2 separate regions of the Homo sapiens genome follow, and region 1 is linked to region 2. The links are contacts of gene promoters, found by promoter capture Hi-C in blood cells and fetal thymus (Javierre and others, 2016). All regions are on one chromosome and are shown on one strand. The core of a region is centred on a gene start or on the middle of the fragment in contact, and the rest is flanking DNA. Distances in the headings are between cores, read along the strand shown. Region 1 overlaps HNRNPU (heterogeneous nuclear ribonucleoprotein U). Region 2 holds the start of ZNF692 (zinc finger protein 692).

Region 1 (2,500 bases), core at 1-2,500, 4.0 Mb before region 2:
CACAACCTAGTGAAAAGAAAAGAAATGTCATTTCACTGTCAGTAGACACCACCTAATAATTCTTTAAATATTGTTAAGGCCAATTTAAATATCTAAGTTTTCATAGCCCTTACACTAACGGACAAAAATTTGTTTATGGAAAGATTAACAGTCAACATAAGGGGGAAACAATTACTTAAGAGCAATATGCACAGCACAAAGTAAATGAAACAGACTAATCATCTAGTTCTTCTAAATGTCATTTTGTGCCAGGCAAGCAATATTCAAATGCCACAGTTAAAAAAAAAAAAATCCCTTACTTCACAATCTTTCTTCTCTTCAGGCCCCTTTGGTCCTCTAACTCGATCCTCTAAGGGGACGTTCTGGATGAAAGTATACTCTTCAGGTATTGGAAAATATGGCTTTTCCTTCTGACCAAAATTAAATTCAACTGCACAGTTGTGGCAGAGAACATGCGGGAACAGTGGCCGTCCAGCAAGAACTTCCTTACTGATTTTGAAGGCAACGCCAAGATCTTGTCCATTCTTAGCATACGAGAGTTCTACTTCATCACTTTCAAAGTTCTGTTACACAGAAAAAAATTCAACAGTTAAAATCTGCTTCCTTAAACTTTCTAAAAAACTAAGAATTAAAATTAGGAGCAAAGCTTATCCTGTGGAAGCTACAGGTTAAAGAACTATTAGGTGGCCTTTAAGGGCTACACAGTTAAGAAATCTGATGGTTGTAAACCATGAAGCACGTATCTCCAGAACCAGAAACAATACTGACCTAGAAGCTAGACTGAATTTTCTAGGTCAATTTCATGTTCACTGTTTTCAGTCAAAATGAATTAGTGAGTTCCTCAAAAATGTCCTGTGTTTTCCCAATTCAACTGCTGAATGAAGTCTTTACACTAATCCAGGGACTGGTGTATTTTGTTGCTCATATTGAAAACTGACCTCAGTAAAGCTTCTTTAAAGTTCCTAGATATAGCTACTAACTTTGCCATTTATACATAGAAAGTTAGCTTTAACTTACAGCAAAACATGTAATCACATCATTTTCATCAAACTTTTCTCCATAATCTTCAGTCTCACAGTTGCATGTTTTTATTCCTTTTAGAGAATACCCATAAGAAAATTCTTCTTCACCTAAGAAAATAATTAATCTTCATGAAGTAGATGTTTAAAATAGTCCAAAGACTCATCTATTTTACTACTTAAGATGTAGGCTACAAGAGAAATAAGCATATAACCTAATCACCTGTCACTGACACTATTACTTTTCTATCTCTGTACCAGAATTGATGGAAGTTAGGAGGGATATATACGCAGAGACCAAATTAGTTGACGATTTGCATATCACGGGTAAGATTTTATTTCAACCATTGGTCATAAACTTCTAATAAAGGAACAAAAACTAAAATGTAGCCTGTGCCTACTATGTGCTAATATTACCTGTCTGAAGTATTAACAGAATAGATAAAAACAGACAAAAGGCTTAGAATGCCCTCTAGTTAAAAAACACTGAAATCAGACCCTCCTGAACATTCATGAGCCCACATCAGTCAAAAAGAAGCTTTACCAAGTAACATTCCACTTGTAGTTAGTGACCAGCCAATACGAACTTCATGTATGTCAATATCTTTTGTATATAAATGCCTTACTGGGATCTTCTCTGTAACCTGAAAGTCAAATCATTAAATAATTAAAATAATACACCAAGGAGGTAACCCCTTAACTCTCGCATATTTCATTGCGCCACGGGCTAATCTTCCTCTAGCTATAAATACAAAGAAGGCACACTCTAGCCCACCCCCAATATTTGTAAGAACTTTAAACTGATGTGCTTATAACTTGAAATTTAAAGAGTTAAATACTTATTTGACCCATATTTAAAAGAATACTTAATATTTTTAAAGTTCATGTTGTCAGTCTTTAACTTAAAGCCAATTAAAGGATACAATTAATGTTTTTCTCACCAACAAAAGCAGTAATGTAACCAAATTTTATTTTTAACTCTTTGGTGGCCCTTTCAAATGCTTGATAAAAATGAAGTACCCTAAATAAAAAATCGCCTAGCTCTGCATGGCAAGTTCTAACATAACAACCGTGATTAACTGTCACAACAAAATGAAGGTTCCAAGCTCCTCTTTTAATTTACAGGAAGCTTCAAAAATAAGTACCTTTGATAACTTAGCAGTATGAAGCACCTGTAATTCCAGCATTCTGAGAGGCTCAGGCGGGCAGATCACTTGAGCTTAGGAGTTCAAGACCAGCCTGGGCAACATGGTGAGACCTTGTCACTATTTTAAAAAGGAAAAAAAAAGGCTGGGCACAGTGGCTCATGCCTGTAATCCCAGCACTTTGGGACGCCGAGACAGTGGATCACCTGAGGTCAAGAGTTGGCGACCAGCCTGGCCTACGTGGTGAAACCCCATCTCTATTAAAAATACAAAAATTAGCCAGGTGTGGTAGTGTGTGCCTCTAGTCCGAGCTACTTGAGAGACTGAAGCAAGGAG
Region 2 (6,530 bases), core at 1-2,500:
GAGGACACAGCCTGAAGAAGTGTACCTGCCAGCAGGAGAAGAGGCAGGTCAGGACTCAGGTGGCCAGCCACCCTCAGCCCTGGGCACTCACACATGTAAGGGGCCAGCCCTAAGGGCCGCTATTCGCTGAGACCATGAGGAGGGGAGCAGGACCCTCGGAGGCCACAAGTCACACAGGCCGTCCTGGTAAAGTGAGAAACCTGAGGGTGGAAAAGAGCAGCAGGACAGGCCCTGGAGAGGAGGCTAGGGGCTGCTGCCTGGGTACCCTCCCCCAAGCCCTTCTCCCGGCCCCTAACCGGTCCAACAGGAACTTGGCGAGCTGCGAGTGCAGGGAGAAGCCCAGCCGCTCCTTGAGGAGGCACCACTGCTCCATGTGGCCGCCCAGGCGGATGCGGCACTTGCTGCGGCGCGCGTCCAGCTGCCGCCGCTTCTCCCGCCGCCTGCAGGACACGTCCACCGCCGGGGAGGAAGCCATGTGCACCAGAGGCTGGAGGGTGGAAGGGACGTCTTCAGCGCCCTGCCGATCTCGGGGGTCGGGGACCCGGCTCCACCTGCCGTTAGGGCCTCAGTTTCCTCATCAGTGAACTGGGGCAAGACTAAACTATTTCAATAGCAGTGGCAGGTGTGGAGCCAAACCCCGTCCTTCTATGATACAGGGTGTTGAAGCTCAGCGCTACCATGTGAGTGTCGTCGGGTGGGAGGCAGGCAGACAGAAGCAGTCAGAACAAAGGCCTGCGCCCTCCAGTCCACTGAAGTGGAGCTGTGGGGAAGGGGCGAGAGACTTTCACGGGAAATTTCAACTGGGCTGGGGGCGGTCCACACATTTCATCTTGAATAGGGCAGCGGCCTTTACTGGTTTCTAGGGGAAGGAAAGGTCGTGTCCTGGCGTGCAGCTGGGGGCGCTCTTCATAGTTGGGTCGAGTGGCGGTGAGGCCGTGGTCAGAGGTCTGGAGGGCGCCCCCCATCCACCCCGTCTTGGGCACCCCCACTTAATGCTGACAGTGAGTGGAGCGGACTAATCCCAATGGCAGTTCCCAGGCTGCCCAGAGCCCCCGTCGCGACCCACCCCCACCCCGGCCTTACCTGTGCGCCCCCACGCGCCCTCACCCCCACTGCGCCTGCGCCTGCGCCTCCCGGGCCTAGCGAGCAGGCCCGGAGCTGCTGGAAGACAGGGGCCCACCTCGCGCGCGCAGCGTTTCTCTTTTAAGAAGAAACGGTGCCTCTCGGCGTCGGCTGCTGTAGCCCGGAACTGAGGCCCGCGCCCCAGAGGGAGGGGCGAGTCGGAGGCCGACGCCGTGCGCCTGCGCACTGGGTGCCCCGCGCAACGCCCGCCGGGAATCGTGGTTGCCCGACTCAAGTCGCCCGCGCGTGTCGCGGAGCCCCGCGGCAGTTGTGGTTGGGTGGCTTCTGTGGTGAGCGTCTGCGCTTGGTGACCAAAGGTTTGAGGGAAAGTGGAAGAGACAGGGTCAGGCCTCCTGTGCTCCAACCCCAGCCCACCCGGCCTGTATGGGGACGTTGCCTCTTCACTTGTTCCCGTTTTGTATTCACCTTCGATTTCCCCCTCACAGTTGCCACCCGCAAACATGATGCAGAATCAGTCACTTTGAAAGACCCACAGAGGGTCCAGCTAGAGCCCTCTGTGGACCGCAGAGTCCCACCAGCTACAGCCCACTTCTATTACCATCAGAATTCCTCCTAAAAGTTGCCTGCATTCTCTGTGTACGCTCACTTCCCATCCTCTTCTCTTCAAATGGCTCTGATGGAGCTTTCCTCCCCACCCAGCCACTGCAGTGGCGCTTCACAAGGTCACTTGAGACGGTCATATTGCTACATAGCAGCTGTCAGTTCCGTCCGCCTCTCTGCCCTAGAAAGAGCGCGACTATGTAGCTCTCGTCCTCCTCATCTTTATGGCTCCCTCTACATTTTGGGCCCCAGTTTTACTTCTGTGACTTCATATGCTCCAGGTTTTCCACCCTCCTCACTGGCTCCTTCTATCCTTTTTTTGGATCCATTCCCTCTGTTCTGCCAAAAGATGAAGTGTGCCCTGGCTCAGGCCTTGAACCAGATCTTCTCTCGTCTGCATATGTTCTCCTGGGTGATCTAATTAGTTCCATGGCTTTAAATACACTGATGGCTCCTAGCCTAGCCCTCTTTCAACTCCAGTCATATATCTTACTGCCCGCTTGACTTACATGTGTTAACTGAGCTAACACGTGTAAAGAATGTAGGACAGTGCCTGGCATGTAGAGAGCGCTGACACATGATAGCTGATATTTTCTCCAACATAAATATGGCAAACATATAACAATAACGCCTGTACCCTCCCCCATGCCAGTAAACTATGTCATCATCCACCCACTTGTTCAGAAAAAAGGGAATCAGCCTTGATTCTTTGCCTTTTATGATACCTAAACCATATACATCAGCAAATCTTGTTGGTCCTGTCTCCAAAAATTTATCTTAAATCCAATCACTTCTGACCCTCTCAACTGCTAAAACCCTACTCCAAGCCACTGGTATTAATTTTCTGTAATTGTTGTAACAAATTGTGTTGTGTGTTGTTTTCAGCCACAAACTTGCTCCCTTTACTCAAATTTATTTTCTCACAGTTCTGGAGGCCAAGGCATCAGCAGGGCCACAGGCCATTGTAAGGGCTCTAGGGGAGAATCCTTTCCTTGCTTCTTCTAGCTTCTAATGGTGGCCAGCATTCTCTGACTTGTGGCCACGTCACTCCAATCTCTGTCTCTGAGGTCACATTGCCTCCTTCTGTGTCAAATCTCCCTCTGCTTCTCTCTTACAAGGATGCTTGTGAATGCATTTAGAGTCCATCCTTATAATCCAAATAATCTCTCCATCTCAGTATCCTAAGACAATTTCTTCTGTAAAGTATTTGCCATATAAAGTAATCGGCTGCACACGGTGGCTCACGCCTGTAATCCCAGCACTTTGGGAGGCCAAGGCGGGTGGATCACTTGAGGTCAGGAGTTTGAGATGTGCCTGCCCAACATGGTGAAACCCTGTCTCTACTAAAAATACAAAAAAAATTAGCTGGGCATGGTGGCATGGGCCTATAATCCCAGCTACTCGGGAGGCTGAGGCAGAAGAATTGCTTGAACCCAGGAGGAGGAGGTTGCAGTGAACCGAAATTGCACCACTGCACACCAGCCCGAGTGACAGAGCAAGACTCCATCTAAAATAAAATAAAGTAATCTCCACAAGTTTTGGGGATTAGGACACAGATATCTTTTCTGGGACTATTTTTAAGCCTACCATACCACTATCATCTCTCACCTGGTCTGTGGCTACATCTTCCTAATGGATCTGCCTCCTACTTTAACTTGTACTCTCACAAAGCAGGGAAAATTTCCTCAAAGATCAAATCTTTTGCTTAAAATCTGTGAGTGGTGCAATCCAAAATCCTTATCATGGCCTCAAGGACCTACTTAATTGGGCCCTTGGCTTCTTCTCTGGCATCATCCCCCAACTTTTCCCACTTTGTCCTCCCACCTTTTTGCTATTTCTCAAGTGTGCCAAGTATCCTAGAGGGAGTTCTTTTGTCTCTGGAGCACTCAATTCTCCCCTCAGCCCCCACCCCATCCCCCAGCCCACCACCCAGCTGTTCATCTGTTTGCTCCCTTCTCATCTTGTAAATCTCGGCTATAAGATCACCCACTCAGCTATAAAATCCCTCATTCAGAAAGCTCCCTTTCCTCAGTCATGCTCTACCTCACTGTGCCCTATTGTATCTTCTTCATGGCACTTACTTTCTGAAATCATCTCAGGGACTTGTTTGTGTGTTTGTTATTGGTATACGATGATTGTTGACTAGCCCAGCCTTCTCCTCTGCAGCCTAAATATCTCAAATGACATGGTGTGCAAACATGAACACCCTTAGGATGAGCCCAGTGTGTCCTGTGCATATTCCTTTTGATTTGTGGTATCAGTGACTCAACATACTTGTCTGACTAGTGTAAGGTAGGAAGGAAGATGTCCCAGCTACTTTACTCATTAATGAATGTGTAACTTTTCCAGCTACTTTACTCATTAATGAAAGTGTAACTTTCACATCAAAAGAGCAGGACTCCATCGAGAACAAACTTTATCCTTTCCTCATGGTCCCTTAATAGATATCTGCAAAATCCTTGTGGTTTCATCCAAGGGAATGAAAGGTCTTGTAATTCTTGGTTACTCTTAGAATGTTGGGTCTCACTTTGAGACCCAAGAACATTTTTGGTTCTCTTGGTTTGATCTTGTTTAAAATAATAAAATGAAATTACTGCCAATGCCCAGCTCTTCAATAACCGTCTCCAAATAAATCTCTCAGCCTCTCTTTAATTTCTTATATCATCTAGGTAAGGAATGAGCCAACTCTCTCAAAAACAGTCACCAGCCCCTTCCTTTGTAAGTGCTGCAAGGGAGTGCTAACATTTTAAGGAGGGGTTCTCTGTAAACATTGGTTCTCTGCCTTTAGTGACCTCATTGCAGTCTGAGACCTTGAATTCCATCTTAGCATCCCATTACAAAGGCTAAGATTAAATGTGAGCTATTTGTATTTTTGTCACTGTTGAGCTTTACAGTTTACAGACTGCTGAAACTGCCAATTCTTTTATACACATAAAAGGGTCCATGTGGAGGACATATTTATCTTCATAACATTTATTTTTCCTGGACTATGCATGGCACCATAGCGCTCTTCTTATCTCCTGCTTTGGCACAGCCAAATCTAATATTGCTGTACCCTCTGAACTTTTAGTATCTTCTCTCCAAAGAGAAAAACTACTTTCCACTCTCCAGATCCAAGGAGGAATGAGCCAAATTGCTACAGAAGTTGAGTCAACCCACTGCCCTCAAATCCTGAGATGTATTCCCAGTGGGAAAAGGAACACTCCTTCAGGACTTTGTACCCCAAATTCCACGAGACCCACAGACACCCTCAGCCCAGCCCAGCTCCAGGTATTTGCATGAACCTCCCTCTTTCTCAGCCCTCATCCTCTCAGTGACTGGTGTCTTCATCCTCCAACTAGTCATCATTGCTGGGAGTGCAATTCCGTTTCCCCTGAGCCCCTGACAACTGAAGGGTGGTGCCTCTACCCTGAGTCTGATCATGCCCTAGTGCGGCTGACCTGGGCGCTCTGTGATGCCATGTGGCCCAGGTAGGGTGGGGTGGTATACAAGAGATGCGGTTGCCCTTGCTCCTGGCTGGCCCAGCTGCCTGGGTTGGTCCTGTTAGCTTTGGCTCCGGGCCGGAGGGCAGACGACATGAAGGAGGAGGAAGCCAGCCGCCAAGAGACTCGCCGTGGTAAATTCAGCGTCTGCAGGGGTGCTTGACGCGGCGGAGCCCGCGACGCCGGCAGCGGAGCGACATGTTGCTCCTGGTGCTGAAGCAGCAGCTGCCCACCCTCGCTGTGGTTGTGCTGATGGCAGCAGCAGCCCGTCTAGGGTGGCCACTGCCGTGATGCTGGCTGCAGCGCTCCATGAAGCGAGTGGAGCCAGGAACAGGCAGAAGCCCCGCCCCCTCCTGAGTTGATAGGGTGGGACCTTCGCGCTCACGGGTGCAGCCTCTGCCGCCCGGCTGTGGCTGCCGACCAAGGCCTCCCTGTGCTCTTGGGGGCCAGGAGCAGCCAGGAGCCCGCCCTCCCAGGCACAGCTACTGCGGCTCAAGCTGTGGCTGCAGACCCAGGCATCTCTTCACTCTCCAGGGGCTGGGAAGGACCCCGCTGCCCGCGGAGGCTCAGAAATGCCTGGTTCTGCTGCCTGGTCTCTCCCCGCTCCTGGTGCCTGCTCCACGGGCTCTGAAATGTCTGCTCCCAGTGCCTGGCTGCTCCCTGCTCCCAGTGCCCACTCTCATCTCAGAGCAAAGTTGAGGCCAAGGCCGGCGCTACTGCAACCCGGCCGGGTGTGCGCACACTCGGGCAGCGCTGACATGCCAGCCCCCTGCTGCCTCGGCCCCCTCTGGACTTTGGGCGCCAATGAGCACAGGAGGGAGGCCGAGGTGAGGGCTGAGGGCAGACCAGCACTGACCTGCAGGTGCCCCTCAGCATGAACAGCCTGGGTGCTATAATGTTGTTCCTTCTGTTTTACTTCTAACTGCCCCTTCCTCCTGCTCGCCTCTGACTCTCTCATTGCATAATTTTGCCCCCTCTTTCTCTCCTTCATCTTCTCCCCTTTTCCTTGCCTCATCTCATTTCCTCCTTCTGTACCTAAAAAGTTTGGCATTTGGGCTAAAAAATGAAACAACCATTTCTCTTCAGCCATCTTCCAGCATTAAGCTTCTAATACAGAAGAGTTGGTGAGCCACCAACAATTTGAAGACATTTCTTCTAGTTCTATTCCTGTTGCATTCCCCTCCTGTTTAGTCCACTCACCAGACTATTTTTGAGTTGTGCCCTAGCTCTCTCTCCATGCTTCCACCCACCAGGACCTGGTAGATCTTACCCTCCTCACACTGCTCATTCAGCTGGTTAGAAATGAAGCCTCCCACCAGTCAGAACTGGGAAACATGGTGGGAACTAAAGAATTCTCTGTCTCCC

What was found. Contacts are between HindIII fragments. The CHiCAGO score rates a contact against its expected background, and 5 or more counts as called.
Region 1: a fragment that was not itself captured here is called in contact with the fragment with the promoter of ZNF692 in region 2 in 1 of 17 cell types (fetal thymus); the score reaches 9.0 in fetal thymus.

What each region holds. Positions count from the first base shown.
Region 1 is chr1:244,857,712-244,860,211 of GRCh38, forward strand. It overlaps HNRNPU (heterogeneous nuclear ribonucleoprotein U), which reads right to left. Exons shown (of 14, transcript NM_031844.3): 5 at 1,564-1,663; 6 at 1,018-1,130; 7 at 300-563; 8 at 1-6. Among named protein-coding and RNA genes, the nearest start is that of SNORA100, 4.7 kb to the left of the region's middle. The HindIII fragment of the contact is 609 bases long and covers 947-1,555 here.
Region 2 is chr1:248,857,835-248,864,364 of GRCh38, forward strand. ZNF692 (zinc finger protein 692) reads right to left here and starts at 1,251. Exons shown (of 12, transcript NM_017865.4): 1 at 1,084-1,251; 2 at 297-487; 3 at 1-25. The coding sequence starts at 475. It overlaps ZNF692-DT (ZNF692 divergent transcript), which reads left to right and starts at 1,330. Exons shown (of 3, transcript NR_186117.1): 1 at 1,330-1,412; 2 at 4,795-4,953. RefSeq lists enhancers at 56-135, 736-785, 1,586-1,735, 5,067-5,326, 5,797-5,936 and a silencer at 946-1,445. The HindIII fragment of the contact is 15,686 bases long and covers 1-6,267 here.